3 separate regions of the Homo sapiens genome follow, and all the other regions are linked to region 1. The links are contacts of gene promoters, found by promoter capture Hi-C in human tissues and cell types (Jung and others, 2019). All regions are on one chromosome and are shown on one strand. Each heading gives the region's core, a stretch centred on a gene start or on the middle of the fragment in contact. The rest is flanking DNA. Distances are from core to core; before and after follow the strand shown.

Region 1 (3,958 bases), core at 303-2,802:
CTGAGGCAGGAGAATGGCGTGAACCCGTGAGGCGGCGCTTGCAGTGAGCCGAGATCACGCCACTGCGCTCCAGCCTGGGTGACAGAGCGAGACTCTGTCTCAAAAAATAAATAAATAAATGAAGTCCAGAAAATGGGGTGGAGAAAAAGAAGGGGAGATATGGACCCCCCACAGCCTCCTGCCCACATGCCCCTCATGGCACCAGGCCAGGCTGTGGGCCTCCTGCCCCTGCTGGGCACTGCCCATCGCCTGGCCCACACCTCTCCAGTCTCAGACTCCGCAGCTGCCCAGGGCTTGGCTGAGACATTCTCCAGCTATGCTGAGAAAGGCCAGGAACCCTTGCCTCTGACCCTGAAGCCACCACCCCTCAGTGGGGGTCGCCTGGGCATGGCCCGAGGCCCACCCACCTACACCCTGAGTGGCCACACATGTCCCACATGGACCCCCAGCCCAGAACAGACATGTGAACGCACAGACACGATACCACTCCCCGTGAGACCCCCACGGCCTCCTCCCTGAAGCAGGGGGGTCCCAGCACCCCTCAGGAGGTCGCCACCTGTGCCCTCCCTACCTTGCCGCACAGAGACGTAGCGGTGGTTGGCAGCCACCAGCACCACCTGTGGGTGACTCTCCTCCAGATCAAAGAGCTCATCCTTGCCAGGTCGCGTGTTTCGGCCGGCCTTGAGGGTGCCTGCGGGCCCCACGGGTGCCAGGTAGTGGCCGTCGCAGTCCTTGAAGGCCAGCTTGCCCGCCTTGAACTCCAGCGTGTAGCAGGCACGGGGCTCAGGCTCCCAGACCAGACGGCCGTCGCTGCGCAGGTAGCGGCTGTCACAGGACTTGAGGCAGTACCGTCGGCTCCGGAAGATGAGGGTGAGGAGGGCGTCCACGCCCCAGGGCTTGTCTCCGTCTGCGGCCATCTCGTCCTCCCGCGGGCACAGGTGCACGTAGCGCCGCCGGCTCACGCTCAGCAGGTGGGCCTGCGGGTGGATGGCCAGGTGCACGGTCCACAGCTCGGCCGGGGAAACGGCTGTGGCGAAGCAGGACAGCTGGTCCTCGGTGCCTCCGAAGAAGCGGCCGTGCGGCTCGGACCGCAGCACCCAGCGCCCATCTGGCTGCGGCAGGACCAGGAAGCGGCAGTCACGGCCCGGCTGCTCTGCCTCACAGGCCACGCGCCCGTCCTCTTCTGCCGACAGGTAGCGGCCCAGGTGGCTGCTGCGGAGCAGCACAGCCGTGCCTTGTCCTGGGTCGGGTTCCAGCACCCAGGTCTGCTTCCTCTTGAGGCTGGGTGCCGAGGCATTGACCTTGAAGCCGAAGCTCTCAGCTGTCAGGTAGCGGTCAGTGTCGTTGACGAGGCCAAACTGGATCTTCAGCACCTGGTGCAGGCCGTTCGTCGGCATCTTCAGGCTGGCCGGGTCCCCGGAGGGGCCTGGGATGCGCCCTCTGAGTGCTCACGGCCCCCGCGGTCCCCCAGAAGCCCGGGTCGGCTCGGCTGGCCCACAGCCCCCAGACCCAGCCGGCGTCACGAACCCCCTGCCTGCTCTGACCCGCCTCTGACCCGCGGCAGCAGCCTGGGCAGCTCTTAGAGGGCCCGCGGGCAGCAGAGGGCGGGCGGGGAGGGCGGATCAGAGACGTGCGGCTTAGGAGCAGCACCTTTCATTACCCTCAGCTTGGATTTCAGCCACTCCCGGATTGCACAGAGCCCAGAGCCCGAGGGCCTGAGGGCCTACGGGGCTGGAGGGCAGGGTTGATCCCCTTTTCCTCATAGCGTGGGCCCAGCGCCCCTCTTCACGGCCCTGCACCTTTTGGCCTCTCTCGTTCCTGCCCCCCTCCTCCAACCCCGTGTGGGCTCCCGGCCCGGCCCGGCCCAGCCCTTCCGGATGTAGAAGCCGTCCAGTGGAACGCTCACGGCTCGGCCGCAACCTGATCGCCGCCCGTACCCTCGGTGGCCGCCAGGCCCTCAGCTGGATCCAGTTACTGCTTCTCTGATTCCTGCTGCCAGAAGCATAGCAAGGACCCCAGCCACAACCTGCAGCCCAGGTCGCCTCCACCCCAGACCGGCCTCTGGCCACACTGCTCAGGCCCCAGAATGACGCACTGGACTGCCACCCACGCTGGAGGGTGGAACACAGTGGCCGTGCAGCCCTGCAGGCAGGGGGCAGAGTCAGAGGCCCTGGGCCAGGCTGGCCCGGCCCCAGCGCACTCCTGTGCGCTCTGAGCAAGTTGCTGGGCCCTGAGGCTGCCCCCTCCTCTGCTGTGAGCTGGAGTGAAGCCAGCCTCACTTCACTTTGGAGTCTTTACGGATGTGGATCCAGGAGGCTGGTGGGACGATGTCCACCCCATGCTCCCAGCGGTGGCCCTTGGAATCTGGGAGAGGATGAAGGCCAGCAGGCCGGGAGAGACTGGAAGTGGTCACACCTGTCTACAGCACCTCCTTGCTCTGGGCCACCTGGCTGTACCCCTTCCCCAGAGCCTGAGGGGCACTGGGCCCTGCTCACCGTGCCTGGCTCCTGCACCTGCCTCAGGGGCTTGGGGCCAAGTAGTGAAACCAGAGCTGGCCACCCTGGGCCAGGGCCAGCCCGGTGTCCTCTTCCTCATAACAGCGTGTGACCCTCCCGTCTCCCTGGGGACTGGGAACAGGGGCCACAGGCCCCTTCCGGTCATGGCCTGGAGTCACTCCCCTGTCCTCCTGGGCCCATCTCCTGAGTGGCCATCATGGGGGTCCCCGTAGGGCAGGAGTCTAGCCAAAAGCAAGGGGCCTGGGCTGGGCACCTGTGGGCTCCAGAGGTGGGCAGGGCCATGGTGGCAGAGTGTGCACAGACTCAGGGGCTCTTCCTCTGTCCTCTAAGCCCTGGACAGCAACCGTGCCAGGCACCTGCAGACACAGGGGAGGAAAAAGAGGAGACCTGTCCCCACTGTCCCCACGCTCAGGGGCCAGGGTGGGGGCAGAGAGACTCCCACATGCAAATACCCCCCAGGGCACAGCGTACGCCACGACGCCAGGGCCTGCTCTCGCCTCTCCCTGTGTGCTGGCCTCATCCGCCTCTATGATTCACACGCATTTATGAGGCACCAACTGTGTGCGAAACCAGGTCACGTGCCAGGCACCATCCTGGGGAGACGCAGTCTGGGGTTTCACCCCCTTCCCAGAGACGATGCCCACACACACTCTCCCACAGTTTCCAGGGGACTGAGGACACAGGCCTAGCACCGATGCCAGGGAACTGTCTCTGGTTTAGGGATACAAGCTAGGGTGCTGCCTGCACCTCACTTTCCCATTGGCTCTTCTTTTTAAAAAACTTTTTTCTTGAAATAGGGTCTCGCTCCTCACCCAAACTGGAGTCCAGTGGCGCAATCTTGGCTCACTGGAACCTTCGAGCTCAAGCAGTCCTCCTGCCTCAGCCTCCCAAGTAGCTGGGATTACAGGCACTTGCTACCGTGCCCGGCTAATGTTTGTATTTTTAGTAGAGATGGGGTTTCACCATGTTGCCCAGGCTGGTCTCGAACTCCTGACCTCAAGTGATCTGCCCGCCGCGGCCTCTGAAAGTGCTGGGATGATAGGCGTGGCCACTGCGCCCGGCCTCCCGTTGGATTTTGAGGGTACAGCTCGGTTGGTCCGTGAGCGGTGGGGGAAGCCGGAGGGGCAGCTGTGCCCATGGTCCCCCCCACCCCAGGCACAGACACTGGCTTCACCTCCACACCCCAACGCCCAGCCAGGCTGAGGAGGAGCCCAGGCGGCCTGCCCCTCTGATTGGCACGACGGCCTCATTAGCGCTGTCTGGGCTGGCAGGGCGCTTAGGCATCGGGTGCTCAGCAGGGGGAAGCCTGGCCGCCCGGCACTAAGTGGGCCTGGCTCTGGGCAGCCTCTTGGTGGCAGAGCCAGAAATGATGGCGGCTCCTCAGTTCTAGGGCCCCACAGCTCCACGTTGGGTGGGGCTGCCTGGCACTGACCCAGCTGTGT
Region 2 (3,964 bases), core at 879-3,378, 160 kb before region 1:
ACTGCCGGTTGCCAGCCTGGAGGGGGTTTTGATGTGAAGATGCCTCGAGGGTAAGAATCCAGATGGGCTAAGCCACAAAGAGAAGGGGGCCCCACGGCCCTGGCAAGCAGCAGAGTGACTGTGGCAAGGCCTGTAGCCCTAGGTTTAAAACATTATAATTCCAGAGTGAGGCTGGGCCCGGCCCAGGCAGTGGCATCAGGCCCTTACGTGGGCCCTCACTGTCCCCCTCCTGACGCCACACTGCCACCCGCTGCGAGCTGCACTCACCTCCTGAACCACCCACCAGGAAGGAAAGGCCCAGCAGGGACGGTGGCCTTGTGCACGGCAGGGGACCTGGTGTCTGGCCGGGGCTGTAGAGCCCCCCAGGTGGGAACTCACCTTACGGGTCATCACCCCGAACTGCACCCTGCAGCGGTGGCATTCCTCAGCGTCCACCCAGTCTGGGGCCTGAGGAGGGGCAGCAGTCAGGACCACACGCTTCCCGCCCCACCAGCCCCAGAGGCACAGAGCCTCCCCTGCCCCACAGAAGGCAACGGACCCAGAGAGGACCCCAGCACGAGCGAGAGCAATGCCCCGGGCGGCCCTTCCCAGCGGCGTGGCCTGGGGTGAAGCTGCCGAGGCCTGAGGAAGGGACTTCCTTCCTCATCAAAGGTGCTTGTTTTCCTTTCCCGAGCCCCCTAGCCACTCTAAAGGCCCTCAAGCCACGTCTCCACCTCGCCCTGCAGAGACAGCTGCTACGCCTCCGCCCAGGACACACAGGCATCCTCAGGTCCCAGACAGACGAGAGCTCAGCCACCAACCCTCAAACAAGCCGGGCTCCCAGCACTCCCCTTCACGCTTCCTGAGCAGCCCGACTCCAGAACCCCTGGCGGCCGCCCACACTCACTCTCTCGGCAGCAAACATGGCATCGCTCTCTTTGAATTCTGGAAAGACGTGCCCTGGAGAGATGAAGCCATAGTCACTGCCTGCTCCCACCTGGCCTGCAAGACTTCCGGGAGCCCCTTCCTCACTCTCGGCAGCTGCAACGCAGCAGTGACCGTGCACCCAAGTGAAGGTGTCTGGGGGCACCGAGACAGCCTCCTGCCCCCAAGATTGGGTGTCCCCATGGGGCCTCTGTCCTCACTGTGGCGGGAGACAAGAGCCAGGCCCTGCTGCCCTCTTCCTGAGACACTGCTCCCACTCCATCAGGGCATGAGGCCCCTGCGTGGCCCCGCCTGCTGAGTGGCTCCCTCACCCTCTGCTCTCTGGCCAGGGCTCCCACTGATCCTGAGGACAAGACCTTGAGCTATTCTTGACACACGACCCCAGAAAAAATCCAGGAGAGCTCCCACCCCAGGAAGGAGACAGGAGCACAGACCACCAGCATCCACCACCCCAAAGTTGAGGGTCCAAGGCAGCTCGTGCAGCGCCCCCTGCGTTCTTCCCGTGTTCTCCACACTGGTCCTGCCCACCCTGCAGCCACAGGGCAAGCGTCCAACTCCTGCAGCGGGGACGCACCACCCCTGGAGCCTGCCCCATTCCCCACGCTCTCAGCCTCGTCTTCAGCAGACTCAGGGCCACAGAGAACCCGCACAGATGTGAGCAGCCATGCCCACCTCTCTCTCACTGAGTGGGCCCTGAGCACCAGCCAAGACTCCCAAATGCATCCTGAAGCCCCCACCTCTCTCTACACAATCCCCTAGTTCTCCACGGCCACAATGGCCGAGAGGGACCCTTAAGAAACACACCTTGGCAGCCACGACCTAGACGAAAACCCACCAGAGGCCTCCTGCTGCGCTGACAGCAACCCTGAACTCCAGCCCAACAGCCTGGAGGCCCTCGGCGCACAGGCCCGGCTGCACTCTCCTCTGGCACGCTGGCCACCTTTCTGCCCTGGGGCCTCAACCCTGAGTGTCTGCCCACGGGTGCTGCCTGCCTGCTCACGCCGGCTCTGGCTTCTGTTCCAGTCTCGACACTTGGGACAGCTCCTTCAGAGGCCTTCCCTGACTGCACAGCCCAACCCGGCCCCCAGGAGTCCTGCCACTCTGAAACAGGCTGTCTGCTGCCTTTTCACCTGTGTGTTGTCTGCCATCACTGCCTGCCCCTGCCCGTGGGCCGTGGGTCCAGAAAGGCAGGAGCCGGTCTGAACCCGCCCTCACATGCACGGTCTTCCCTGGCTCCAGGCCACCGCCCTCCTCCCTCCCAACACAGGGAACAACCCATCTTCCCAGGCCCCTCGCCACTGTGCCCGTTGAGCCTGACTGCCCAGCAGTTCCAAGCCTCAACCTGGTCCCAACCTCAGTCCTGACTCACCCTCCACCTTCATGATCTGGTAGGTGTCCTGGACCACCTTGTACTTGGGCTCGTTCCGGAAGGCATGCGCCCAGGCCTGGATCAGGTACAGGATCTTGTTACGGACGTTTACCTCCACTTGTCTCTGCAGGCAGGGAGAAGGGGGTGAGGGTCGCAGGACACTCCAGGCGCCAGAGGCCTCGGTGTGAGGAAGCAGCTGGCAGACCTCAGCCTCTGAGCAGATGGGGCTGACACAGAGGCCAGGGAGGGCCCCCCGAGTGGGGCGTGGGGGCCATGCACCAACCTGTTCCCAGACCCTGAGTTCAAACCTCACGCCTGCCTCTACTTGCTGGAGCCAAACAACGCCGCGTCTCTGTGCCCCTGACCATCTGTCTCTCCCTTTCCCCACGGGACCTGCCCACCCCAGGATCCCCGGTTCCCGTCAGCCTCCAACAGGCAGGACCCGGCAGGCCTGACGGTGGCAGCGTGGTGTTGGGGCTGAGAACACAGGGGTACTGCGGGGCTCTGGCCACGCCCCTCCTTCCAGTCACAGCCGGGGAGACGCGGGGGGCAGCCGCTCCAGAAATGCCTCCAAATTCAGAGCGGGCTCCAGACCCCCTGCAGCCATCCTCTCCCCCGGTTAGAGCGCAGCCTGGCCTCGCGTCTACGGCCCTCTCGGGGACGCCGTCCCGGTGTGACGTGCAGGACGGCGTGCGATCAGAGGCTGCTGCAAGCAGGCTCCGGGGCACTTGCACCTCAGCCTAAGCTCCTTTCCAGAACCCCTCTGCATCCTCAGCGGCGCCTTCCCTTCACAGCCCTGCCTCACCCCAGAGGAGCGAACCGGCTCAGGATCTGCAGCCTGACTGAAGGAGCTCAGGAGCACCAGGGTCGGGCAGGGCCAGACTCCGGCACCTTCCGCCTCTCAGCCAGGACAGGACGGGACAGGAAGCCAGCCAAAGTGGCCAGTGAGGGCCTTTGAGAGGCCTGGCTGTCCACCGGGATCCCCGGGCAGGTTCTCAGCTGTGTGAGTCCAGGGAGTCTCCTATGAGACCCAGGTCTGGCCCACAGGTTGGGACAGAAGGGGAGCAGCCTGACTACATGGGACACTCTTTCTCCTTGACACCTGCAACAGCATCCCCACTGCATCACAGTCCACATCACAGTCCCTGCAGGTGTCCCCAGCACAATCCCTGCAGATGTCCCCGGCACAATCTCCTGGGGATCTGGAGGGCTTTTCCTCCTCTGCCCAGGAAAGCATGAAGCCCTCGCTCTCCAAAACAGCTCTTATCCCCGCCAGACACATCCGATCTTACAAGCCCCCGCTCAGAGCCCTCCCAGGCCCCTGCCTGTGGGATGTGGCCAGCCTGCCCTCCGGACCACAGCCACTCTCACACACGATAGCCACCACCTGCCCTGCCCACCCAGTGGCATCTACTCACCTTCCCTAAGACAGCAGGTGCCCAAGCCCTGCCTCCCGGAAGCTTCCCCCAGGCCCCAGGGTCGCTGTCACCTTGGTCCTCCAGACACAGCACCCCAGGCCGGCTCCTGCTAAACCCTGACCTCCCTGGATTGGGGCTCACGGCCCTGTCTCTCCGACTCATGAGTGCGAGCTTGCGCAGTGCAGGGACCACCGATCTGCACCTGCACATTTTCCGCCACACCTGGTGCTGTTCTGTCATCAGTGCCCAGTAA
Region 3 (4,120 bases), core at 193-2,692, 180 kb after region 1:
TTAGAGACCAGTGAAAATAAATAATGAGTTGGGGCTGATTAGAAAAAAAAAGAAAGTGGGGCGGGGTGAGGTGGCTCATGTCTGTAATCCCAGCACTTTGGGAGGTCAAGGAGGGAGGATCACTTGAGGCCAGGAGTTTCAGACCAGCCTGGAAAACATAGCAAGACCTCATCTCTACAAAGCAAACATGAAAAATTAGCTGGGTGTAGTGGCTCAAACCCTCTGGTCCCAGCTACTTGGGAGGCTGAGGTGGGAGGATTGCGTGACCCTGGGAGGTGGAGGCTGCAGTGACTCCTGTGCTGTACTACAGTGACCCTGCTGCTGTACTCCCTGTCTCAAAACACTCCACAAAACCAAACGAGCCCAATTTTTTATTTATTTATTTATTTATTTTTGAGACGGAGTCTTGCTCTGTCACCCAGGCTGGAGTACAGTGACGCGATCTCGGCTCACTGCAAGCTCCGCCTCCTGGGTTCACGCCATTCTCCTGCCTCGGCCTCCCAAGTAGCTGGGACTACAGGCGCCCGCCACCACGCCCGGCTAATTTTTTGTATTTTTAGTAGAGATAGGGTTTTACCGTGTTAGCCAGGATGGCCTCGATCTCCTGACCTCGTGATCCACCCGCCTCGGCCTCCCAAAGTGCTGCGATTGAGAGGTGACAGCGTGTGGCAGTCCTCACAGCCCTCGCTCGCTGTCGGCGCCTCCTCTGCCTGGGCTCCCACTGGCGGCACTTGAGGAGCCCTTCAGCCCGCCGCTGCACTGTGGGAGCCCCTTTCTGGGCTGGCCAAGGCCGGAGCCGGCTCCCTCAGCTTGCGGGGAGGTGTGGAGGGAGAGGCGCGAGAGGGAACTGGGGCTGCGTGCGTCGCTTGCGGGCCAGCTGGAGTTCCGCGTGGGCTTGGCGGGCTCCGCACTCGGAGCAGCCGGCCGGCCCTGCCAGCCCCGGGCAATGAGGGGCTTAGCACCCGGGCCAGCGGCTGCGGAGGGTGTGCTGGGTCCCCCAACAGTGCCGGCGCACCGGCGCTGCGCTGGATTTCTCGCCAGGCCTTAGCTGCCTTCCCGTGGGGCAGAGCTGGGACCTACAGCCTGCCATGCCTGAGCCTCCCGTCCCCGCCCCGCGCCCCCCACCCGTGGGCTCCTGTGCAGCCCGAGCCTCCCCGACGAGCGCCACCCCCTGCTCCACGGCGCCCAGTCCCATCGACCACCCAGGGGCTGAGGAGCGTGGGCGCACGGCGCGGGATTGGCAGGCAGCTCCACCTGCAGCCCCAGTGCGAGATCCACTGGGTGAAGCCAGCTAGGCTCCTGAGTCTAGTGGGAACTTGAAGAACTTTATGTCTAGCTAAGGGATTGTAAATACACCAATCGGCACTCTGTATCTAGTCCAAGTTTTGTAAACACACCAATCAGCACCCTGTGTCTAGCTCAGGGTTTGTGAATGCACCAATCGACACTCTGTATCTAGCTACTCTGGTGGGGCCTTGGAGAACCTTTGTGTAGACACTCTGTATCTAGCTAATCGGGTGGGGACGTGGAGAACCTTTGTGTCTAGCTCAGGGATTGTAAACACACCAATCAGTGCCCTGTCAAAACAGACCACTGGGCTCTACCAATCAGCAGGATGTGGGTGGGGCCAGATAAGAGAATAAAAGCAGGCTGCCCGAGCCAGCAGTGCCAACCTGTTCTGGTCTGCTTACACGCTGTGGAAGCTTTGTTCTTTCGCTTTTTGCAATAAATCTTGCTACTGCTCACGCTTTGGGTCCACACTGCCTTTATGAGCTGTAACACTCACCCCGAAGGTCTGCAGCTTCACTCTTGAAGCCAGCGAGACCACGAGCCCACCGGGAGGAAGGACAACTCCAGACGCGCTGCCTTAAGAGCCGTAACACTCACCGCGAAGGTCCGCAGCTTCACTCCTGAGCCAGCGAGACCACGAACCCACCAGAAGGAAGAAACTCCGAACGCATCTGAATATCAGAAGGAACAAACTCCAGACACGCCGCCTTTAAGAACTGTAACACTCACCGTGACGGTCCACGGCTTCATTCTTGAAGTCAGTGAGACCAAGAACCCACCAATTCCAGATACAGGATTACAAGTGTGAGCCACCGTGCCCGGCCTCTATTTATTTTTTATAATTTTTGAGACAGAGTCTTACTTTGTTGTCCAGGTTGGAGTGCAATGACGCAGTCCTGGCTCACTGCAACTTCTGCCTCCCGGATTCAAGTGATTCTCCTGCCTCAGCCTCCTGAGTAGCTGGGATTACAGGCACCCGCCACCACGCCCAGCTCATTTTTGTATTTTTAGTAGGGACAGGGTTTCACCATGTTGGTCAAGCTGGTCTCAAATGCCTGACCTCAAGCAATCCACCCGCCTTGGCCTCCCAAAATGCTGGGATTACAGGCGCGAGCCACTGTGCCCAGCCCCAAAGCTTATTTTTATTTGTTCACATGAATGCAGTTTTCTTGGTTATTATTTCTGAATCTTCTTGTAAATTTTTGAATACTACCTAAAATTATGAGGAAGGAAGCAAAAATCTGAGTTCACTTCCCCAGATTCTTTTTTTAAAGAACAAAATCTCTTTTCTCTCTGAAGCTATTACTGGTGTTTTTGAACACTGTGTGTTCTGAAACTCTTGCTCAGTGCAAGTTACACAACTGTAGCAAATAGACCCCAAACGTAGCTGCCCATGCCAGCCCGCGGCTTATTTATCCCTGACCTGCCCAAGCAAGTGCTCCTGCGGGGTGGGGCCTGGTTGGGCCCCAGGCTGAAGGCTGCCCTGTCATCTTGCACATTTGTCTTCCACAGTCTCTCTGATGTGCCCATTTCAGCCATCAGAAGGGGGAACCCTAAAAGCCTCCTGGAAGGGTGACCTGCTCCTGAAACTGGTGCACACTGCTTCTGCCAGATTCTGTTGGACACCACGGTTACCCAGCCACACCTACTGCGAGGGAGCCTGGGAATGCAGACCAGCCAGGGGCCCCATGAGAAGGGGTAACGGCTTCTGTTGGACAGCCGGACGGCAGCCAGCCAGCCCTTGGCCTCCAGACATCTGTGAGACCCACCCTTCCTCCACACATCGTGTTAGAAAAAGTCACCATCATCTCCAGGGAGAAGACCCAGCCCAAAGCCTGCCTCTCTAGGATGGGCAGAGCCTTTCCGTGGGTCCCGATGACTGTCTTCCGGGTCCAACTGACAGATGATTCATTAAGCCATCTGCTCCCCTCCCCCCGCAACCTGAGCCTTCATCTGATCTTTGCCGTAGGCCTGCACACTTTTGTTGGACTGAGCTGCCTGAGTGACAGGCCTTGAACAGCCACCATCTTTTCTCCTACTGTTTGAGGCATAAACAGTGGCTTTTTCAACCTGGGAGTCCCAACTTTCTGGGGTAACTCTAATTGCAAACCGGCCCTCAATTTCTGGAAACAGTAGTCAAGCTACAGGGAATGAGTGCCTCGCGCTAACCTTCTGGCTCTTTCCTCCCTCTTCCCAGCGTTCCCAAGCCTTTACCTCGGCACACCAGGGGACGTGTGGCATCATCTTCAATTCACCACATCCGTTTCCCTGTATCCCCAAGTGCCAGGGCAGGTGTATCAGTCGGCTTTTGCCACAACAGTGCTGCATAACGACGACCTTAAAGCTTGGTGGCCGAGTCTCACGCTCACAGGGCTAGGGCCGACCTCCACCTGGCCAAGCCCCTGGCCTCCGGGTTCTGGGATGTGGGCTGGGCTGAGGTCCGCCCAGGTTTCTCGCTTCTTGGAGCCCCCGTCAGTTATCTGCGTTCTCCATTCTTCTCTGGGGCACAGCCTGCTTGTAGTGGGTCCCTGGCAAGCAGGAAGACCAGGCTGCCCTTGCTGGCACATTCCAAACCTTTGCCCATTTCAAATCTGCTACCTTCCCACTAGCCAGAGCACGTCACTCGCCAAGCCCAAAGTCAAGGGAGGAGAGCCCACCCACCACCTAGAGACCACAGCAAGCAGACGGATGTAAAATTCTGCTACGGGGGAGTGAAAAACCAATGATTAAATTGCTAATTGAATTGTAAGTTAAACTGCTCTGAGGCATAGACGCTGGTGTAAATGCCTAAACAAAAGAGAAGTGGATTTCTCTCTTGACAACCATGGCA

Evidence for each region. Contacts are between HindIII fragments. The study calls those that stand out against the background at their distance.
Region 2: a contact is called between a fragment that was not itself captured here and the fragment with the promoter of FSCN2 in region 1, in 1 of the 25 tissues and cell types used here (lymphoblastoid cells).
Region 3: a fragment that was not itself captured here is called in contact with the fragment with the promoter of FSCN2 in region 1 in 4 of the 25 tissues and cell types used here (dorsolateral prefrontal cortex, lymphoblastoid cells, mesenchymal stem cells and 1 more).

The regions. Positions count from the first base shown.
Region 1 is chr17:81,525,971-81,529,928 of GRCh38, reverse strand. It overlaps FSCN2 (fascin actin-bundling protein 2, retinal), which reads right to left and starts at 1,552. Exons shown (of 5, transcript NM_012418.4): 1 at 572-1,552. The coding sequence starts at 1,397. RefSeq lists enhancers at 578-1,103, 1,104-1,630. The HindIII fragment of the contact is 15,570 bases long and covers 1-3,958 here.
Region 2 is chr17:81,687,157-81,691,120 of GRCh38, reverse strand. HGS (hepatocyte growth factor-regulated tyrosine kinase substrate) reads right to left here. Exons shown (of 22, transcript NM_004712.5): 5 at 2,294-2,417; 6 at 887-939; 7 at 379-447. Among named protein-coding and RNA genes, the nearest start is that of MIR6786, 4.6 kb to the left of the region's middle. The HindIII fragment of the contact is 5,827 bases long and covers 1-3,964 here.
Region 3 is chr17:81,349,133-81,353,252 of GRCh38, reverse strand. No RefSeq gene overlaps it. Among named protein-coding and RNA genes, the nearest start is that of RENO1, 5.2 kb to the right of the region's middle. The HindIII fragment of the contact is 3,176 bases long and covers 1-3,030 here.